6 separate regions of the Homo sapiens genome follow, and all the other regions are linked to region 1. Evidence: promoter capture Hi-C in 16 types of primary human blood cells and fetal thymus (Javierre and others, 2016). All regions are on one chromosome and are shown on one strand. The core of a region is centred on a gene start or on the middle of the fragment in contact, and the rest is flanking DNA. Distances in the headings are between cores, read along the strand shown. Region 1 holds the start of COTL1 (coactosin like F-actin binding protein 1). Region 2 holds the start of KCNG4 (potassium voltage-gated channel modifier subfamily G member 4). Region 3 overlaps HSDL1 (hydroxysteroid dehydrogenase like 1). Region 4 overlaps ZDHHC7 (zDHHC palmitoyltransferase 7). Region 5 overlaps LINC02176 (long intergenic non-protein coding RNA 2176). Region 6 has its middle 4.9 kb from the start of LINC02176.

What was found. The method cuts DNA at HindIII sites, captures the fragments that hold promoters and counts their contacts. A CHiCAGO score of 5 or more calls a contact.
Region 2: a fragment that was not itself captured here is called in contact with the fragment with the promoter of COTL1 in region 1 in 1 of 17 cell types (M1 macrophages); the score reaches 5.6 in M1 macrophages.
Region 3: a fragment that was not itself captured here is called in contact with the fragment with the promoter of COTL1 in region 1 in 1 of 17 cell types (naive CD8 T cells); the score reaches 5.1 in naive CD8 T cells.
Region 4: a contact is called between a fragment that was not itself captured here and the fragment with the promoter of COTL1 in region 1, in 2 of 17 cell types (neutrophils and monocytes). The highest score is 6.0, in neutrophils.
Region 5: a contact is called between a fragment that was not itself captured here and the fragment with the promoter of COTL1 in region 1, in 3 of 17 cell types (M0 macrophages, activated CD4 T cells and endothelial precursors). The highest score is 7.3, in M0 macrophages.
Region 6: a fragment that was not itself captured here is called in contact with the fragment with the promoter of COTL1 in region 1 in 1 of 17 cell types (M0 macrophages); the score reaches 5.9 in M0 macrophages.

Annotation. Positions count from the first base shown.
Region 1 is chr16:84,616,686-84,619,995 of GRCh38, reverse strand. COTL1 (coactosin like F-actin binding protein 1) reads left to right here and starts at 1,918. Exons shown (of 4, transcript NM_021149.5): 1 at 1,918-2,158; 2 at 2,413-2,495. The coding sequence starts at 2,082. RefSeq lists silencers at 1,660-2,019, 2,040-2,089. The HindIII fragment of the contact is 6,545 bases long and covers 1-3,310 here.
Region 2 is chr16:84,237,800-84,241,433 of GRCh38, reverse strand. It overlaps KCNG4 (potassium voltage-gated channel modifier subfamily G member 4), which reads left to right and starts at 1,422. Exons shown (of 3, transcript NM_172347.3): 1 at 1,422-1,764. The HindIII fragment of the contact is 259 bases long and covers 2,100-2,358 here.
Region 3 is chr16:84,140,281-84,143,747 of GRCh38, reverse strand. The region is part of intron 1 of HSDL1 (hydroxysteroid dehydrogenase like 1); the gene reads left to right. Among named protein-coding and RNA genes, the nearest start is that of HSDL1, 3.2 kb to the left of the region's middle. The HindIII fragment of the contact is 1,186 bases long and covers 893-2,078 here.
Region 4 is chr16:84,992,284-84,995,872 of GRCh38, reverse strand. The region is part of intron 2 of ZDHHC7 (zDHHC palmitoyltransferase 7); the gene reads left to right. Among named protein-coding and RNA genes, the nearest start is that of ZDHHC7, 17 kb to the left of the region's middle. RefSeq lists an enhancer at 752-1,252. The HindIII fragment of the contact is 8,914 bases long and covers 1-3,589 here.
Region 5 is chr16:84,939,840-84,943,101 of GRCh38, reverse strand. LINC02176 (long intergenic non-protein coding RNA 2176) reads right to left here. Exons shown (of 4, transcript XR_933830.2): 3 at 1,145-1,243; 4 at 45-202. Among named protein-coding and RNA genes, the nearest start is that of LINC02176, 13 kb to the right of the region's middle. The HindIII fragment of the contact is 1,735 bases long and covers 871-2,605 here.
Region 6 is chr16:84,921,423-84,924,733 of GRCh38, reverse strand. No RefSeq gene overlaps it. Among named protein-coding and RNA genes, the nearest start is that of LINC02176, 4.9 kb to the left of the region's middle. The HindIII fragment of the contact is 3,173 bases long and covers 1-2,841 here.

The DNA.
Region 1 (3,310 bases), core at 669-3,168:
CTCGCTTTATCGCTCAAGCTCGAGTGCAATGGTGCGATCTCAGCTCACTGCAACCTCTGCCCCCCGCCCCGGGTTCAAGCGATTCTCCTGCCTCAGCCTCCCAAGTAGCTGGGATTACAGTCGTCTGCCACCACGCCTGGCTAATTTTTGTATTTTTAGTAGAGATGGGCTTTCCCCCTGTTATCCAGGCTGGTCTCGAACTCCTGAGCTTATGAGATCCTCCCACTTCAGCCTCCCAAAATGCTGGGATTACAGGAGTGATCCACTGCGACTGGTCTGATTTCCTTTATTTGTGTTTAAATTTTTGATCCTTTTGGAATTTTCCCTGATCAAAGGATCCACCTTTGTTCTTCTTTCTAATGGCCAATTGTCCCATTACCCTTGTCAAGGAGTAAGGTAGGAATGGCTTTGTGGGGTATGAAATGTGAATTTCTTTTTGTCTTATTTATAACAGCATCTGCCTCTACTCTTCTGAAACTGTGTTCCTGTCCACCCACCCATTCAACTACCCATTGATTGACTGATTGATTGATTCATTCAATTTCTCGTTTTTGTTTTTTTGCTTGTTGAGAATTCTAACATTAATTGGACATTGTCCCTGACCTTTTGGGTTTCTATTTAGGATTTGTTTTTATCACTTAATAACCAACAATGATGACATTTTATCGAATGTCTAGTATATTTGTTCCAAGTATCATTTCAATTACACTTAAAACAAAGCAGTGATGTCAGTTATACTATTTTTCCCATTTGAGGAGTCATTTAAAAGAGGTTTTGAGGCTTTCCAATGGCCCCCAGTTGGAAAGTGGCAGTACTGGATGCAATTCAAGAGCCCAGTCTTCAGGATCCTGCCTTTTTACCTACCTGGACGCTGTAACTGGTCTCTGTGGAATGGCTGGATGAGGGAATGAATGAATGAGTCAGTGAAGGAATGAGGAAGACAGAATGAGTCAGCTCGTGCTTTCAGAGGAGCCCAAAGGGAGAGGTTAAGATAGGAATGCAAATGACCAGAATCCAGAGTAAACGCGAGCCCACCAGCGTTTTGGAAGCAGTCCACTTTCTACCCCCTCCTATTTAAAATGCTTCATTCTTTCCAGTTCCTCCCCACCTAGAATCCATGGAACCAAACGCTGGGGTAGGGACAGTGGCCAGCCTGTCTCCTTGGGTTTGACGCATTACATCATCCACGTGGAGGTCCCCTGTGGAGCTCTGCAGCCCTGCAGCCTCAGGGGCAGGGGGGTGGGGAGAATGAGGAAGGGGGAGAGGGGGAATAGGAGGAGGGAGTAGGGGACAGGGAGGGAGGAGATGCCAGGAGGGTAAGTGGAGAAGAGGGAGGCGAAGCCGGGGGCAGCAGGGGAGGGGGTCAAGGAGGAGGAAAGAGGAGAGCTTGGGGAGAAGGAAATAGGGAGGATGGAGAAGTTTTGGGCTGGGATAGGCAAGAAGAGGGAGGAGGAGAGAGGAAGAAGAATAAAGGGGGAAGGGAGAAAGAGGGGGAGGGAAGGGAGGGGGAAGAGGTCAGGGAAGTGGGGGAAGCAAGCAGTGGGGGAAGAAGAGGAAGGAGGAGGGAGAGGAGGAAGGCGGGGTGGGAAAGGGGGTTGGGGTAGTGGGAGTTTCCAGGGAGGGGTCGGGAGGGGAGGAGGGGAAGTGAGAAGGAGAAGGAGAGAGAAGAGGGATGTTGGGGGAGAAGAGAGCGGGAGGGAGGAGGGAGAGTGAGAGGGAGGAGGCAAAGCCCCTACTCCAGCCCCCACCGCGGAGTTGCGCAAGCCTTCCGGTCTGGGATTGGCCGCCAGAGAATCAAGACGCTCCGCCCCCGCAGCCCGACGGCCAATGAAGAGGCGGGCCGCCGCCTGGGCGGCCAATGGGCGCGGGGGGGCGGGGCGGGCCACGGCCTGGGGTCCCCGCGCGCTCTCCGTCCGCAGTGGAAGCCGCCGCCGCGCTCGCAGCTTGCAGGCGCCGCGTAGCCGTCGCCACCGCCGCCAGCCCGTGCGCCCTCGGCGCGTACCCGCCGCGCTCCCATCCCCGCCGCCGGCCAGGGGCGCGCTCGGCCGCCCCGGACAGTGTCCCGCTGCGGCTCCGCGGCGATGGCCACCAAGATCGACAAAGAGGCTTGCCGGGCGGCGTACAACCTGGTGCGCGACGACGGCTCGGCCGTCATCTGGTAGGAACTTTTCATTCGTCTCCACGCCCCGCTCCCCGGGCTCGCGCGGGGCCTCGTGCACCGAGCCGGCCTCCAGGCGGGACGGATTCGGGCCTCCCGCGCTGTCTTCCTCGCCTTATTCCGGGACGGCGTGCCAGGCCCCCGCGGGCTTCTCCGTGGCCAGCGCGTCTGTTAGATTGTCCTCTGCAAGCGCCGCGTCGCGCGGCCACCAGCGCTGATGTGTGTGTGTGTTTTTTTCTTCTCCCAACCCAAAGGGTGACTTTTAAATATGACGGCTCCACCATCGTCCCCGGCGAGCAGGGAGCGGAGTACCAGCACTTCATCCAGCAGTGCACAGGTAGGGAGGCGCGCCTGCCGGGCGGATGCGCGGTCGTTGGGAGGTTGTCTGCACCCGGGGAGCCCCGGCCAGAGCGAACCCGGGAGGAACCGGTGGCCACATGGGGTGCCCCTGGCGCATGGCGTGGGAGGAACCCGGTGTGAGCGTTTTAAGGCCTCATAAAACCTTCTCCCCTCTGGACATCCGAAGCAACAGAAGTGACCCACCTGCCTCCGCCATCCTACAATGCCTTCTCCAGGCGGGGCAGCTCTTTTGCCCCCTGCGGTCCACTGGTTTTCTAAGGTCAACTCCTGTGTTTCCAAACTCCAGTGTCCATCCAGCTCTTCCCACTGTCCCCTTTGATCAGTCACTGAGCCCAAATACGAACAGGCTAGGGGGCTGCTTGGAAGGGAAAGAAACTCAGCCGCGCCCTCCTTTCTCCCGCTATCATTGTCTGCCCGTGTGCTGATTTTATGTGATTTTTAATTTGACGAGTAGAATCAGATGCAAAAGAGTACACACCATATGATTCCATTTAGAAATCCTAGACAAGGCGAAACTAATCTATGGTGTGAATGTCAGAATCGAGATTAGCTTTTGGGGCTAGATAGCCACTGATGGGGAGGGGCACACCACCCGGACTGCTGGGAGCTGAAAATGTCTCTGTAGACATTTGTTGATCTGGGAGGGGGTTATGCAGGTGTGTACCCGCGTGAAAAATCATCAGACTGTATACTTAAGATTTGTGTGCCTTAGGCACTTCCCTGTGGCTTGTGAACCATGAAAAGAAAGACCACGTGGCAGGCATCGCCATAAACCCTTCGGTAGTGGCAGAG
Region 2 (3,634 bases), core at 980-3,479, 380 kb after region 1:
CTCCATTCAGTCAGTTCTCTTCTCTGCTTGGATTCGTTCCCATTGCCAAGGCCACAGAGAGCCCACCTAGGTCAGCAGCACCTGTCATCCCCTTGCAGGCAGCTGTGGAAGGCTCACCCTCTAATCTCCCTCACTCCTGGATCCTCCCATCAAAACTCAAGCGTCTGTTAAGTGATGGTTCTTTTTTTTTTTTTTTTTTTTTGAGACAGAGTCTCACTTTGTCACCCAGGCTGGAGTGTAGTGGCGCGACCTCAGCTCACTGCAACCTCCGCCTCCCGGATTCAAGCAATTCTCCTGCCTCAGCCTCCCGAGTAGCTGGGATTACAGGCACCCGCCACCATGCCCAGCTAATTTTTGTATTTTTAGTAGAGACAGGGTTTCAGTACGTTGGCCAGGCTGGTCTCAAACTCCTGACCTTGTGATCTGCCCGCCTCCGCCTCCAAAGTTCTGGGATGACAGCTGTGAGCCACCACACCCGGCCTAAGTGATGGTTCTAACCAGCAAGATGACCTTGAGCAAGCCTCTTCTCAGGGCCTCAACTATCAAATGCAGTGAAGATAACACATTCAGAAGCCAAGAGCCTGGGCTGCAAAACCTCTTAAGAAAGTGAAGAACAGTCAACGTGTAGTGAGCAACTACAAGATGCTGGTTTTACAATTGCAGCCATCGCTGGTTTCACTGTCCTCATTTGACTGAGAAACCCAAGGCCCAGAGAGGGGAAGTGACTGACCAAGAACACACAGCCAGGCAGTGCAGAGTCCAAGTTCACACCCAGGCCCTGGACTGATGCCTCTTCCTTTTCACCCACCCAACCATCCAACCAGCACAGGAGCTTGCACTTATGGTTCTGACCTTCCCTGAACCCTCTCTCATTCCCATGTTTTAGAGACAAGACAATTGAGGCTCAGAAGCACTAACTCACCTGGCCAAGGTCACCCAGCCTTTCACATAGGAGCCAGGATCCAGGCATGTGTGTGAATTCCAAGCTCGGAGCTCTTCCTATTGCTGTTCTGTAACACAGCCCCCCTGACTCCCACCCAGCGCTCAGAGCCTGGGCTTCTGTCTGAACCTGTCCCAGGCCTGGGCTGCTTAAAAGCAGCAAAAAGTTCCTCCTGCAGCTTCAACTTGAGCCTGTCACCATCATCAGCATACCCCGAGAGACTCTGGGGTGCCTGGGACAGGTAGCTGCAGATGCCTCCGGCCCCAAGTTGCCCTCTGCTCCTCCCGAGTTGTGCTCCTCCATGCCAGAGGAGGGAGGACAGCTCCCCTTGCCTCCTAGGCGGTTGGCAGAGTGGCAGCGGCTGCTGCTTCTTCCTGCTGCTGGCTGATGGAGAGATTATTTCTAAGCCCTTCCCATTCCACACCCCCCCACACTGGCTGTCCCCGTGGGACTTGAAGTGCAGAGTCCGCTGCTCAACCAGGACAGCTGCCCTGGCTCCCTCCCAGCAAGAACCCCCAGACCCTCATCTCTCATAAGGAAAGGGACTTCTGGGTCCTTTAAAAAAAAAAAAAAATCCCACCTCAATCCCCCAGGGCTCTCCTGCAGCTGCTGGAGAGAGAGATGCAGAATGAATGAACTTCTGGTTTCTGGAGGAGGCACGGGAAGAAAGATTGGAAACTGACTCTGCTAGAAACTGCTGTTTTGGGGATTTTTTTCTTCCCCTTCATCTCCACCAGAAACCTGTCCCTTCCCTGGGCACCAAGAGATGGGCTCCCCTTGCCTGGCAGAGAAACAGCTGGAAACTGGCTCCCTGAGACAAGAAGGTGAGTTAAACTGGAGGGGAAGAGTTACTGCTTGCTGTAGGGTGGGCGGGGGCCAGGGGGAAGTTGACGCTGTTAGACATCCTTGGCAAAAGTGCTGGTTTGAGTGAATTCCTTTCCCGTGCTCCAGAAGGAGCTGTTTGCCAGCTGTTTGGAGAGCCGTAGATGGCAAAATTGGGTTTATTCAGTGAATGCAGAAAGGGCAGTTTTCAGGTTCTGGAAGGAGCCCCAGGCTGGGGGACAGAGTGCTGGGTTGGATTCGGATTTGCTGTGTGACCTTGGACAAGTTACTTCCGCTCGCTGGGTCTTGGTTTTTGCACTGGGAAAATGAGGAAGCTTGCAAAGGGCTCCCCAGATTTCAAAATACTCTTCTCTCTGCAGGCTCCTCATCCTCCTCTGGCCATTCCCTGTGAGCAAAGTAATGCATTCAGAGCAACAGAATGTTGTGTAGGGAGCAAGAGTGTGAAATAGGTTACGATTCACTCTCCACTATCCACCGGAATCCAACCGGCTCTGAAATTGAGAGGAACTTTGATTTCCGTTCCACTGCCGAGTTTTTCTCTTGATTGGAGTGGAGTGCATCTGAAAATGTAAGCTTATAGATGCTTTGGAAATGGCTTTGGCTAGAATGAATAGCATAAGAAATGGTTGCAGGATCTGAAGGTGAGAAATATTATGAAAAGGACTTTTTAAATATGTGAAGTGGCTAAATCTAAAACACTCACACTAAGTCAAGCACCTCATATAGGTCTGAAATGGAGACAGCATTAGAGGCCCCGTCATTTTTTTTTGTTTTTTTCTTTTTGAGATGGAGTCTCGCTCTGTTGTCCAGGCTGGAGTGCAATGGCGCAATCTCGGCTTACTGCAGCCTCCGCCTCCCGGGTTCAAGCGATTCTCCTGCCTCAGCCTCCCGAGTAGCTGGGACTACAGGTACATGCCACCTTGCCTAGCTAATTTTTGTATTTTTAGTAGATACAGGGTTTCATTGGCCAGGCTGGTCTCGAACTCCTGACCTCAGATGATCTGCCTGCCTCTGCCTCGCAAAGTGCTGGGATTACAGGCATGAACCACTGCGGCTGGAGGCCCCTTCATTCTGCACATAAAAGCCTGCGGGCCCAGAGAGGGGGAGTAACTGGCTGGAGGTCACACAGCAAGGATGGCTGAGGCAAGCACGCAACGAACATGGAGGAGTACTGTGATTGCAAGTACGCAATGCTCCTCCGTCCCCTTAGCAAAGGCCTCCCCAAATGGGGAAGCGACCAAGAGGGATTAAGCGAGACTGGTGGAGTTCCTCCTGAGACCTAGATGCTTGGATGCTCGCTAAGCATAGTCACATTCCTGGGCTACTCGAACCTTTAATAACAGACCCTCGCTGAACCTTCCTGATGTCAGGTGCTTGCTAAACAGTAGGCAAGACACGCAAACCTTCCGTGCGTCAGCCTCCTTATCTATAAAGTGGAGCTCTTATGTCTACTTCATGAGGTTGTTGAGGTGAGTTAGGGGAAGCCAGGCATGTCAGAAGCATCTAGAAGTATTATTAATACACACTTTCTTGTATATTACTGCATATAACCCTTGCCATGCCCTACGATGTGGGCACTCAGACTGCCCCAGTCATACAGATAAAGCAAAGGACTCAGAGACACTGAGTAACCCACCTGTGCTGGCAGTCTGTAAGGGATCGGTCCCTGCCAGTGAACCTGAGAGCCTACATTCTTAAGCTCTATTTTTACTACCTGTACCTTGCAAGATTAGTATGAGTCTTGTCATTTGAATGAATGATGCTGAGATCAGAGAGGTTAAGCCACATACCTGAGACCACAGAGCCCAGAAGTGGCACCGCTCCGACTTGTCCAGCTCAGGACTGAATTAC
Region 3 (3,467 bases), core at 236-2,735, 480 kb after region 1:
TGGGGTTACAGACATGAGCCACTGTACCCGGCCAAGTTTGTGGTTTTAATCACTGCTGGAATATTCTAGGGCAACAGAGTTGAACATATTGGTGCTACTTTTTTTTAAAGTAGGTTTTCAAAAATCGAAATGACTTACGCATGACATAAAATTTATCATTTTAGCCATTTTACAGTGTATAACTCAGTAGTTCTTGCTATAGTCACAATGCTATGCAACCATCACCAGTAACTAATTCCAGAACATTTAATCACCTACAAAAGAAACCCCAACCCCATTAACAGTCATACCTCTTTTCTCCCCCTGTCCCTCAGCAGCCCTAAGTTATCTTCTGTCTCTATGGATTTGCTTATGCTGGACATTTCATACAAGTGGAAACATACAACATACGGCCTTTTGTATTTGGTTTCTGTCCTTTAGCATAATGTTTTCAAAGTTTATCCATGTTGTAGTATGTATCAGTACTTCATGCTTTTTTATGGCTGAATAATACTCCTTTGTGTGGATAACACCACATTTTGCTTATTCATTCATTTGTTGATGGACATTTTGTTTGTTTCTGCCTTCTGGCAGTTGTGAGTAGGCCACTGTGAACATGCAAGCAGGAGTTTTTATGTGAGCAAAAGTTTCTAATTATCTTGGGTATCTGCCTAGGAGTGGGGTACTCTGAATATTTTAATTCTTACTGCATAAATACAGACATGATGGTGAAGAGTGTTGGATCTTGGATGAGAATCCAGGTTTCTAATTCCATGTTGCTGCTCTTTAGGCTCAGCTTCATTGTGCGTTTAGTCCTATACCAAAAATTGGCAGTGAAGGTAAAGACATCCCAAAAAGTCTTGATACACCAATGCTAACTTTGTCATAGTGCTGACGCAGAGTATGAAAAGCTTAAGTTTTTTTCTCAAGAGTGAAATTTGAGCTTTGAACACAAAGCAGTATTTGATTCTGTTTATTAAATAAAGTTGTCTACAGCAGCATGTCAGGTGCTGAGGAGGAATATTAAAGATGTGTGAGATCCGGCCGGTCACATCCCAGTGCTTTGGGAGGCCAAAGTGGGCGGATCACAAGGTCAGGAGTTCAAGACCAGCCTGGCCAATATGGTGAAACCCCCGTCTCTACTAAAAAAGAAAAAAATACAAAAATTAGCCAGGCATGGTGGCACACGCCTGTAGTCCCAGTTACTTGGGAGGCTGAGGCAGAAGAATTGCTTGAACTTGGAAGGAGGAGGTTGCAGTGAGCTAAGATCGCGCCATTGCACTCCAGCCTGGGTGACAGAGTGAGACTCTGTCTCAAAAAAAAAAAAAAAAAAAAAAAGATGTGTGAGATCCCAGCCTCACACCATCACAAAACGCCAGGAGGATTAAAGACTTAAACTGAAAAAGCAAAAATGTAAAATTTCTAGAAAATAATTCGAAAAAATTTCTTCATGACCTGAGGCTAAGGAGGGATTTCTGAAATAAAACAAACCCTAAAGCAGAAAGATTGATATATTTGTCTCTTTCAAAATTAAGACATTCAGCCAGGTGCAGTGGCTCCCACCTGTAATCCCAGCACTTTGGGAGGCCAAGGCAGGTGAATGGTTTGAGCTTACGAGTTTGAGACCAGCCTGGGCAACATGGTGAAACCTCATCTCTACACACACAAAAAAAATTTAACTGGGCTTGGTGGTACATGCCTGTGTCCCAGCTACTTGAGATGCTGAGGTGGGAGGATGGCTTGAGCCCGGAAGGCGGAGGTTGCAGTGAGCTGTGATCATGCCACTGCACATCAGGCTGGGCAATAGAGCCAGACCTTGTCTCAATAATAATAACAACACATTTAGTTCATGAAAGACACTATAATGAGACACAAAACATACAGAGAGCTAGTATCTAGAATATTTAAAGAATTCTTACAATTCTGAGAGAAAAAAAAGGAAAGGACAAAAGATAGGAACGGGCATTTCATAGATTACAAAACACAGAAAGCACATACATATAAAAAGGACTGCAGCCTTACTAGTAACCAGGGAAATGTAAATTAAAACCATAATGAGATACCATTTCACAGCCACCCTGTTGGCAGAAGGTGAAGCTTTGGACGCTACCAGCCAGTGACATTGAGGAGTGGCACGAACCTGCTGCTGGCGGGAGTGTGAATGGGTTCTGCCGCTTTGCAAAAGCATTTGGCAGTGGAATGCATGTGGACCAGCAGTTAAACCATGGGCAAATCCCTTTGCGAACTCTTGCACAGGTGTGCAGGAGATGGGGACAAGCGCTCCCTGCAGCACTGTTCCTAACTGTAAATCAAAACCAGCAGAAACAGTGCACGTGCCTAGCACCAGCAGCAGGGGGACCTGTGAATCGTGGTGTATCTGAACCAGCAGCAGGGGGACCTGTGAATCGTGGTGTATCTGAACCAGCAGCAGGGGGACCTGTGAATCGTGGTGTATCTGAACCAGCAGCAGGGGGACCTGTGAACTGCAGTGCATCTGAACCGTGAGATACTGTGCAGCTGCCGAGGAGGATGGACTATATAGCTGCAGGGGCATGGATGAGTCTCGGGAATGATGTTGAGTGAAAGAAACAAGTCACCAAAGGGTCCATGTGGTGTGGTTCCTTTATGTGAGGTTCAAAACCAGGCGAAACTTAGCAATACTGTTTTTTTTTTTGTTTGAGACGGAGTCTCGTTCTGTCGCCCAGGCGGGAGTGCTGTGGCGCGATCTCCGCTCACTGCAAGCTCCGCCTTCCGGGTTCACGCCATTCTCCTGCCTCAGCCTCCCGAGTAGCTGGGACTACAGGCGCCCACCACTGCGCCCGGCTAATTTTTTGTATTTTTAGTAGAGACGGGGTTTCACCGTGGTCTCGATCTCCTGACCTCGTGATCCGCCCGCCTCGGCCTCCCAAAGTGCTGGGATTACAGGCGTGAGCCACCGCGCCCGGCCAGCAATACTGTTACTGTTTCAGAATACATGCTTGGGGTATACAGCTGTTTTGTTAAAAGAGTCAGGGAGTGACTACCCCAGAATTTAGGAGAGAGGCTGCCTCCAGGATAGAGGAGGGGCTGTAATCAGAGGAACAGCATACAGGACTTCCACGACACTGGTTTTGTTAAGTAGGCTGGTGGCTAAGTGGCTGTTTTATTATTCTTTGAACTGTGCATAATAGGTTTTACATACTTTTGTATATATTTAAACATTTTTGCCAGGTGCAGTGGCTCACGCCTGTAATCCCAGCACTTTGGGAGGCCGAGGTGGGTGGATCACTTGAGGTCAGGAGTTCAAGACCAGCCTGACCACCATGATGAAACCCCATCTCTACTAAAAATACAAAAATTAGCTGGGCATGGTGGAGGGCACCTGTAGTCCCAGCTACTCGGGAGGCTGAGGCAGGAGAAACGCTTGAACCCAGGAGGCGGAGGTTGCAGTGAGCAGAAATTGCACCATTGCACTCCAGCCTGGAAGACAGAACAAGACTCGGCCTAAA
Region 4 (3,589 bases), core at 412-2,911, 380 kb before region 1:
TGACACTAGCTTGTATATTACTAAAAAGGTAACCTGTGCATGTGGCAAAGCAGAGGCGTGGTGCCAAGCTGACAGGCACGCCTTCCTTTTCACCCGCTGCCTTCCGGTCCTAAAAGGAGGGTGTATCTGTGGAGGGGACTCCATGAATTGAATTGATGAGTTCTTGGCCAGTATCACAAGATGAGGGGAATACCCCGCTTTCCACCTGAAATGGAAAGTGGTTTGGTTTTTTTTGTCTGTTTTTTTTGAGATGGAGTCTCAGTCTGTTGCCTAGGCTAGAGTGCAATGGCGTGATCTTGGCTCTCTGCGACCTCTGTCTCCCAGGTTCAAGTGATTCTTCTGCCTCAGCCTCCCTAGTAGCTGGGATTACAGGCACCCGCCATCATGCCCGGCTAATTTTTATATTTTTGGTAGAGACGGGGTTTCACCATGTTGGCCAGGCTGGTCTTGAACTCCTGACCACAAGTGATCCACTCGCCTTGGCCTCCCAAAGTGCTGGGATTACAGGCGTGAGCCACTGTGCCCGGCCTGAAACGGAAAGTTTTTGCTTGTGTGGTTGTCCCTTTAAATATGGAGATTTGTAGTGTTGCTTTTGGTGTTCTGGGAAACAGGGCTTTATTTAACATGCCGAGAAAGAGCTTAGGTTCGGGAGTGTTGAGAAAATCCCATTAAATCGGCCATTAGGGTAGAAGAGTGATGCTGGGGCATCTGTGTGAGAGTGCCCAGTGTTTCACGGTTCCCTCAGAAACTGTCTTGAGTATGAAGTCAACGGTGGTTTTGGAATTCAGTGCAGAATAAGGCTGTGCCCTTGCTCCTAAGGAATGTGTACATTTTAATACCGCATCTCAAATGGCTGTGCTGTTTGCTTTTAGATTAGCTTCCATGTAAAGGAATGGTTTCTTCATTTCTTCCCCTCCCTTCCTGTTGCATTACTCAAGTGTAAATACAGTGACTCAGAGACACGAGTGAGTGCACTGTGTTACTGAGAGCTGTATTTGTCCAGCCTAACTTTGCTATATTCGTTTGTTGCTTTGTTGAAAATAAAGCAGTTTTTGGATTTCATGTTATTTTCCTGTTGACTTCTAATGGATCTTACAGATATGGCACTAAAGCCCTCAAGTATGATATGTCACCCTAATATGTGCTTATAGGAACGTCCTGCCATGGCCAGTGTTTGGTGTCTGTGGGCGCTCTCCTTACACAGCTGTGCCTGCCATCCGCACCCCCAGGTCAGGCATGGAGCCACAGCAGCATCCTGCACTCCGTGGAGGTCTTACCAGGACCTGAACCAGGAAGGCGGAGCTGAGCTGGCTCAGGTGTCACATGTGTGCCTTTAGAAGACTTTCAAGAGGCCCTGCTTTCTGGAGAGAGCTCAGACTGCCCAAACATTGTGCTCTGACAAAAGTATAGCTTGTTTTACTGCCTGGAAAGCACCCTTCCTTTTCTCATGGAACGTGTCCTATTAGAGAAGTCACCATAAAGCAAAATGGTTCTGCTCAGAGGAATTTTTCAGCTTACGGCCTTGATGTACCTGGGCCCACAGATAACGATTCACCAAGAAACTTAGATGGAAATCAGCAGGAGGTGATTGGAATCTGAGAGAGGGACTGCTTGCTTTTTGTTGCATCTGCCTTTTAGCAAACATGCCCTTGCTGTGCGCCAGACAGCATGCAAGGCATGAGGGGGACAGGGCAGGAGGAGACCCAGACCCCCCTGGAGGGGCTGACATCAGGCCGGGAGGTCGGACCTGCAAGAGCTCTCAGGTAGCAAGTGGTAAGTACCTGGGAGGGAGAGCTGGTGAGCGTGCCCAGGGCTTCAGCGGAGGCAGAGAAACTTCCAGGTACTTTCTCAGCCCCCTGACAGTCAGGCTTTACTAGTAGTGCAGGCAGAAGCAGTTTCAGCCTTTATCTCCGGATAGTCACATCTGATGTCTAGAGACCTCTTCGCAAAGTGCTCCTCAGAAGAAGAGAACTCCCTTTTCAGGTTGGCTTGCCTAGAAGAGAGAAAAGTTAGGCCCTGCAGGGTGAATGAGGTTTATGTAGAGGCAATGGTGCTGCAAAGGTGTTTGCAGGGGATGTTGAGCAGACAGATGCAGAAGATGTAGGTTCAGAAAATGCTGAAGGAATGGTTGGCTAAGGGGTCTGTCCAAATTCTTTTGATCTTTAGTTTTTTCTATTTCACTCAAATGATTATTTTTAAAAGTTTTTTTAATTAAAACAATTTTTTTGACATTGGGTCTTACTTACTCTGTTGCCCAGGCTGGACTGCAGTGGTGGGATTGTGGCTCACTGTAGCCTCAACCTGCCAGTCTCATGCGATCCTTCCACGTCAGTCCCCCAAACAGCTGGGACTATAGGTGTGTGCCACCATGCCTGACTATAAAAAAAAAAAACAATTTTGTTTTGTAGAGATTGGGTCTTCCCATGTTGCGCAGGCCAGTCTCAAACTCCTGGGCTCAAGAGATCCTCCCACCTTGGCCTCCTAAAGTGCTGAGATTACAGGTGTAAGCCACCACACTCAGCCTTAAGCATGTATTTATTTATTTTTATTTTTTGAGACAGGATCTCTCTGTCATCCAGGCTGGAGCGCGGTGGCATGATCATGGCTCACTGCAGCCTCCACCTCCCAGGCTCAAGCAATCTTCCCCCCTCAGCCTCCCTAGTAGGGGGGACTATAAGCGCAAGCCACCATGCCTGGTTAATTTTTATTTTCTGTAGAGATGAGGTCTTACTCTGTTGCCCAGGCTGATCTCAAACTTCTGGGCTCAAATGATCCTTCTGCCTCAGTCTCCCAAGTGCTGACTTGAGCCACTGCACCCAGCCTTAAACATTTTTTAAAGCTGCTTTTATCTGATTGAAAAATAGGGCTATTTTACTGACTTTGGAAAACAATTTCATTTTGCTCTTGTACCAGTCAGCATTTTTGCATCGAGAGGAAATTTTTTAAAGTATTTGGCGAATGAATCCTCACCACATGTTCATTCGGCAAATGTTTTCATAATTGCTATGTTCCAGTTGCATTTAAGAAAAGAAAAAGTCACACCCAGATTTGAAAAACAGCACCCAGTGCTGTTACTCAGTTGTAGTGACCTGACCTCTGAGAACATTCTTACTACACTCCTTTATTCACATTTCAGAAGCCATGGTTTCTGCACTCTGCCTGCTTAAAATATGAGGAGCGCTCCTGCTCTGAGAAGGTGCCCGGGTCAGTTCGTTAAAATATTTGTCAGTATTTTCTCCTCATGGCAAAGCTAGGTGAAATTGACTGTCTCTTCCTTTCCCTGGCTCTTTATCTGTGATATTACAACTCTCAGAGCAAACACCGATAAGAGAAGGGCGTACAATCAAAGAAGCAGTCAAAACAGTTACCAGGAAAAGTGCACTTTTTTCTTTTTGTTTCTGGAGAGGGAGTGTCACTCTGTCACTAGGCTGGAGTGCCGTGGTACGATCTCGGCTCACTGCAACCTCCACCCCCCGGGTTCAAGCAGTTCTCCTGCCTCAGCCTCCTGAGTAGCTGGGATTACAGGTACAGGCGCCTGCCACTGTGCCCGACTAATTTTTATATTTTTAGTAGAGACGGGTTTCACCAG
Region 5 (3,262 bases), core at 489-2,988, 320 kb before region 1:
CTCAAAATAAATTAAAAAAAAAAAAAAAAAAAAAGGGATGAAACACCGATCCAGGTTATACAATGTGGATGAACCCTGATGCCATGGTGCTAAGTGAAAGAAGCCAGACGAAATGACCACATACTGTGTGACTCCATTGATAAGGAATGTCTAGGACAGGCCAGTCCATAGAGACAGAAAGCTGACTGGAGGCTGCCAGGAGCTGGGGGAGACAGAAATTAGGAGAAACTGCTTAATGGGTTTGGGGTTTCACTGTGGGATGAGGGAAGTGTTTTGGAGCTAGATAGGGGTGCTGGTTGTACAAAACTGTAAATGTACTGAATGCTGCTGGGGGCAGTAGCTCATGCCTGTAATCCTGGTGCTTTGGGAGGCCAAGGCGGGCAGATGTCTTGAACCCAAGAGTTCAAGACCAGCCAGGGACGCATGGCAAAACCCTGTCTCTACAAAATGTCAGCCAAGCGTGGTGGCATGTGTCTATAATCCCAGCTACTTAGGAGGCCGAGGTGGGAGGATTGCTTGAGCCTAAGAGGTTGAGGCTGCAAAAAAAAAAAAAAAAAAAGTACCAAATGCCAATTAATTGATCACTTTAAAATGGTTATTTTTATGTTATATGATTTCACCTAAATAAATTAGTTTTAAAACCCTAAAAACAAAACACCACAGTGGACAAGGCAGAACCAGGAGGACCAGTTGGCAAATCAGACAAAAAGGAGGGCAGAGGGGTGGGGTGGGGAGGAACCTGGGGTGTGCAGACAGTTAGGGTGACAGGCGCCATCCGAATGGTGGGGTCAGCAGGAGAGGAGAGGAGAGAGATGCCCAGCGTCTGGAGGAAGGGTGGATGAATCTAAAGCACAATGGGCTCCAGAAGCTTCTGGAAGGAGAGAGGACCTGTTTATGTGTTGGGTCTGCGGTGCCAGAGGGCCTCTCGGGCGGGGAGCTCATGTGAGTGTCTCCCACTGAATGAGTCAGGCGGAGAGTATGTTGGAAAAATACGCTGACATGTCCTGCGGTGTCAAACCATCCCTGGCCCAGCCACTGTGTCACTCAGCCCAAGGGCAGATGGGGAAATGTGCCTGTTGAGGTGCGAGTGGGGTGGGGAGAAGGTCACCCTAGTCCATCTGGGTTGCGGGGCGGGTGTGCTCACCTCAAAAGAAAAGTCTGGTCCAGGAATCCCAGTTGTCTGGATAGCGGTGTGTCTCCCATTTTACTAGGGGGAGGATGCAGATCCAGAGAGGTCCGGGTCCTGGGGAGTGAGGGGCGAGTCAGGTCTGCCTGGCCTCTACACTCATGCCCTTGTCTTTATTTCATGCTCAGCCCCTCATCACATAGGTACCGTTCGGAAGCACGTTCTAGAAAGTCCCCTCCTAAAAGTGGACACGGTTTGGGAGCAGGAGGAGGAAGCCTCGGCGGTGAGGAACGCTCACGGCAGGAAGGCGTGAAGGAGCCGCGCTCAGCAACTGCTGCAGCTCCGGTTTGGAACCAGGGCTGTCGGGGAGTTGAGCGTCTCTGGGTCTCGCTTCAGGTGTTCATCAAGGCACAGGCAAAAGCCACTTACTGGGGAAGGGGGTTGGGAAGAGCAGGCCCCGAAGTCACACTTGAGTTGGGATAATTTAGGGAGCGCTCAGGAAAAGGACTGTGCTCAAAGGTGCAGGGATGCGTGGGCTCCGGGACACCGCAGGCGGCGCACGGGCAGCACCAGGGCCGGCAACGGCAGGAGCGCCCAGCACTGAGGCCCGAGGGTAAGGTTGGGGACACGGGACGCAGCTGGCCCATGCGGCCCTGCAGAGAGGGAATTGGGGGAGTGGATGCGACTCAGCTCCTCCAGCCCTCTCCAGTCTCTTGCAGACACCTCCCACCTGCCAAACGCCTCCAGAGGCCGGGGGCAGCTGGTCCTACAGGGGGTTTCCCAAGGCCGGCATCCCTGGGTGGGGAAGCGTGGACGTGGGCCCCAGGCTGTGTGTGTGGACTTCAGGTGACACTGGATGGCATTCCGCAGCCCTGAGCCCCCCTCACGCACATGATCACACACGGGGGGTCCTGGCCGCCTCTCAGGAGGGGCCTCTCATCCTGCTGTTTGTAAACTTCAGAAAGCCAAACAGTCCCTTAGAGAAGCCAGGCCTGGATTTGCTCCGGACATCTGGAACAAGTTACCCTATTTCCCAATCTCTGCTGATCGTTCCCCGCTGCGGGAATGCTGCCCTCGGCCGACAGGGACGAGGACCTGTGGAGAGTGGCAGCCCCCACAGGCCGAGGCTGGCAAGGCGGGCACGGGGGCCGGGGCTCTGGTGGAAATGTCACATTTGAGGCAGCTCTCACAAGGGCCCTGTCTGATGCGAGGCCAGGCCTAGAGAGGATGGTGGAGACTGTGCGTGTGCAGGGTGTTCCGGAACCTTCCCTGGGATGCATGGGGCCTCGCCGCAGGCCATCTCTCCAGACCTGGACTCACCCTGCCCCTGTGCTGTTGCCTTTGTCTGGAATTCCACCCCAGCCTTCTTGCCTCAAGAACGCCCTTCCCCCTTCAGATCTCATGGGCACAGTCCCCGTCTTCCTAAACGGGGTCAGAGCCCCCAGTAATCATGACAAAGACCCTCTCCTCGATCAAGCTTTGGTCAGGCTCCTCCAAACCCTCTTCTCCAGGAGGCCTTGGCCTGGGGGCTTCTGCACTTGTCTTGGCTTTTTCCAGTTTTAGCAAGAACCCAGAGTCAATTAGGAAAACTCCCCGACCCCCGACGCGTGAGCAGTTCCTCGCCTGGCACTGCCCCTCGGGGGTGTCTGTTCACCTGGCCTGCCTTCGGCGAGAGTCCTGTTCCATCGGTTTAGCCAGAACTTCCCCCCACACCTAATGCTTCCTCTTAGTCATTTTCTTTTTTTGAGACGGAGTCTCGCGCTATCACCTTGGCTGGAGCACAGTGGCGCGATCTCAGCTCACTGCAACCTCCGCCTCCCAGGTTCAAGCGATTCTCCTGCCTCAACCTCCCAAGTAGCTGGGATTACAGGTGTGTCCCACCAAGCCTGCCTAATTTTTGTATTTTTAGTAGAAACAGGGTTTCACCATGTTGGCCAGGCTGGTCTTGAACTCCTGACCTCCAGTGATCCACCTGCCTCGGCCTCCCAAAGTGCTGGCATTACAGGCATGAACCACTGCGCCTGACCTCCTCTTAGCCATTTTCCATCCACTGAACCTCTGCTCCAGGTGACATCCCCACTCATCACCGCTGTATTCAGACCAGAGCCCAGGTCTACACCGAGGTCTCTTCTCTCA
Region 6 (3,311 bases), core at 6-2,505, 310 kb before region 1:
GCTCTGTGGATCTGGGCCTCAGAGAGGCAAGAGCTGAAGACGTGGCGTGGGGCAGGGGGCACACATGCAGATGGCGTGTAACGCAAGGGATGGGATGACTGCGGGGGAGAGGGAGCCCGGGCAGAAGGGAAGAGGTCCAAGGTCAGCCAGTTAGCAGGGGCCAGGAAAGGAGTGGGGTGGAGAGGCCGGGGATGGAAGGAGAGAAATCGCGAGGGCGTGAAGCATGCACGGGGCTTACAAGCAGACCATAACGGAAGGTTTGTGACCTTTAAGAAAAATCTAACCATTTGATTGGCTGCTCTGCTTGGCTGTAGTGCAAAGCCCGCCCACTTTGAAGAGGGGCCCAGAGGCAGCCTGAGGCTGTGTCCTCTGGGGGACTTGAATTCAAATGTCTTTCCTGTGTTTTTTGCTTGAAGTCCAATTTTCAAACTTGTTTTTCCCCCCTGTTATTTTTGCAGAGATGGGGTCTCCCTATGTTCTCCAGGGTGGTCTTGAACTCCTGGGCTCAAGTGACCCTTCTGCCTCTGCCTCCCTGAGTGCTGGGATTGCAGACGTGAGCCAGCATGCCTGGCGAGATCCAATTTTCAAGGAGAATATCTATATTCTTTAGAATAGTTTACATTAAACTAATATAAACTATTAGTTTATAACATACCATTGTACTAGTTTGAATCTTCAAAAAGATCCGTCCACATACTAACCTCAAAGAATTACGATTGGGACCTCATCTGGGGAAAGGGTCTTTGCAGGTGTTAAGAAGTTAAGGATTTTGAGGTGGGATCATTCTTTTTTTTTTTTTTCTTTTTTTTTTTTGAGACAGAGTCTCGCTCTGTCGCCCAGGCTGGAGTGCAGTGGCACAAACTTGGCTCACTGCAAGCTCCACCTCCCAGGTTCACGCCATTCTCCTGCCTCAGCCTCCGGAGTAGCTAGGACTACAGGCGCGCGTCACCAGGCCTGGCTAATTTTTTTTGGTATTTTTAGTAGAGACGGGGTTTCACCATGTTAGCCAGGATGGTCTTGATCTCCTGACCTTGTGATCCACGAGGTGGGATCATTCTTGACTAGGGTGGGCCCCACATTCAGTGACAGGTGTCCTTCTAGGAAACAAGGGGAGAAAGCCATGTGAAGGTGAGGTGGAGACTTGAGTGTCCTGGGATACGTCGGCATCTATCATCCATCATCTGTCTATAGGTAAGTAGACAGGCGGTAGATATGGACAACCATATATAGATATAAAATATTCTCCCTTGCATATAGATCATATGTCATATAATGTGTCAGTGTTTCTCAAAGTATGGCCTGAGGAACTCCTGCATCAAAGTTGCCTGGGACTTTGTAAAACTAAAGACTCCTGGGCCGGCTTTCAGACCTATGGGATTAGACTGTGGATGGGGCCCAGGAATGGGCATTCTAGACACATTTTCTGAGTGATTCTGATGCCCCTGGTGGTTCCCTGATATGCTGAGGATGGCTTGGGAGCAGGTGGGGGGAGGTTTGTCAACCAGAAGTGACCAGGAATGTGTCCAAGCAGAAAGGCAGGGACAGGGTGGACTGTTCTGGCTAAGGTGGAGGTTGCTGGCGCACCTCCCTCTGGGGCTGATGGACAGCTGGTGTGTGCTGGGGGCCCAGATGTTTGGGGTCATGGGGACCCTGCTCCGTCCTTGTTGGCACTGGTGCCCCCACCGCCCTCTGGGCCCAGCTGCTGTTGGAGAGGGGCCAGGAGTACACACAGGCTATTGTCAGCCCGTCTCACACTCGGCGTGCCTGGCCTTCCTGACGTTTAGACAGCTGCTTTGTGTCTGGCTGCTCTGGGAATTCCAGGGCCCGGGAAGCGACCGGAGCTGACATCCCAGGACCAGCTGGTGGGGTGGGCCGCGGGGCCATCTGGAAGTTTCCGGACCTCAGGGAACACTTATGTAACTGGTTTAGAGGGGAGGTTTGGACAATGGATTCGCTGAAGGACCAAGAACAAACTGAGCCTTTCCCAGGGCAGGCAGGTCCTCTCCCGCCAACAGGCATCTTATCTACTCCCCAAGGCCCCTCTCAGCCCCAGAGGGTCCCTGCTGTCAAAGCCAGAAGAGCAGACGATGGGACTGAAGCTCTCCAAGGGCAAGGACTTGTCTGTTTTGCCTTGTCACCCTCTGTGCTTAGCACAGCACTTGGCCCGTGCTGAGTGCTGAGTGAGGGTTGAATGAACATGCGCTTGTGTACATGACAGAGTTTCCTCCAGGGAGGAAGGACTGGCCCAGAGCAGCGGCTCACAAAGCGGGGTTCCTGGGTCAGCCCAATCAGCATCCCCTGGGGCTTGTTAGAATGCAGGTTCTCAGGCCCCACCCCAGAACTCCTGAGTCAGATGCTCTGGGGCTGGGCCTGGCAATCTATATTTTTAAGAGCCCATCAAGGGATTTCGATCCAGGCCGGTGCAGGAGAACCCCTGGTGTAGGGCAGCGAGAGGCAGCTTCCAATACCAGGCAACCCCCAACAAAATCCAACTGCTTCCACTCATAGCACTATTACTACTACTACCTCCACTACTACGGTTGCTGTCACGACTGCCATTGTTATCAGTACAGTTACTATTATTACTACGATACTTCTACTGGTACTATTGATTTAGTTGAGGCAGAAGAGCTGGGTCCTCCATGCATGGGCACTCAGCTTAGATTGTAGCCGAGTCCCCGAAGGTGGGGCGCAGATGCTTAGACGTTTCCAGGGACTTGTGGGCGGCTGGCGGGAGACCCACTGGTTTGGATGAAAGGGCACACGGGGCCTCTGAAGTGACACAGATGTGGATTCAAGTCCTGGTCCTGCCTCTTTATTTATTTCTTTTTGAGACAAGCTTTCGTTCTGTCACCCAGGCTGGAGTGCAGTGGTGTGATCTTGGCACCCAGGCTGGAGTGCAGTGGTGTGATCTTGGCTCACTGCAGCCTCGATTTCCTGGGCTCAAGTGATCCTCCCAACTCAGCCTCACAAGTAGCTGGGACCACAGGTGCACCCCATCATGCCTGGCTAATTTTTGTATTCTTTGGAGAGATGGGGTTTTGCCTTGTTGCCCAGGCTGGTCTCCAATTCCTGGACTCAAGTAATGCTCTGGCCTTGGCCTTCCAAAGTTTTGGGATTACAAGAGTGAGCCACTGCGCCTGGTGGCCCTGTCTTTTAATAGTGGGGAGACCTTGGGCAAATCACATAAAAGCCCTGTGCCTCAGTTTCTTTATCTATGAACTGAGGGTGGTCGCAATGGCGCGATCTCCGCTCACTGCAACCTGTCTCCTGGGTTCAACCGATTCTTCTGCCTCAGCCTCCCAAGTAGC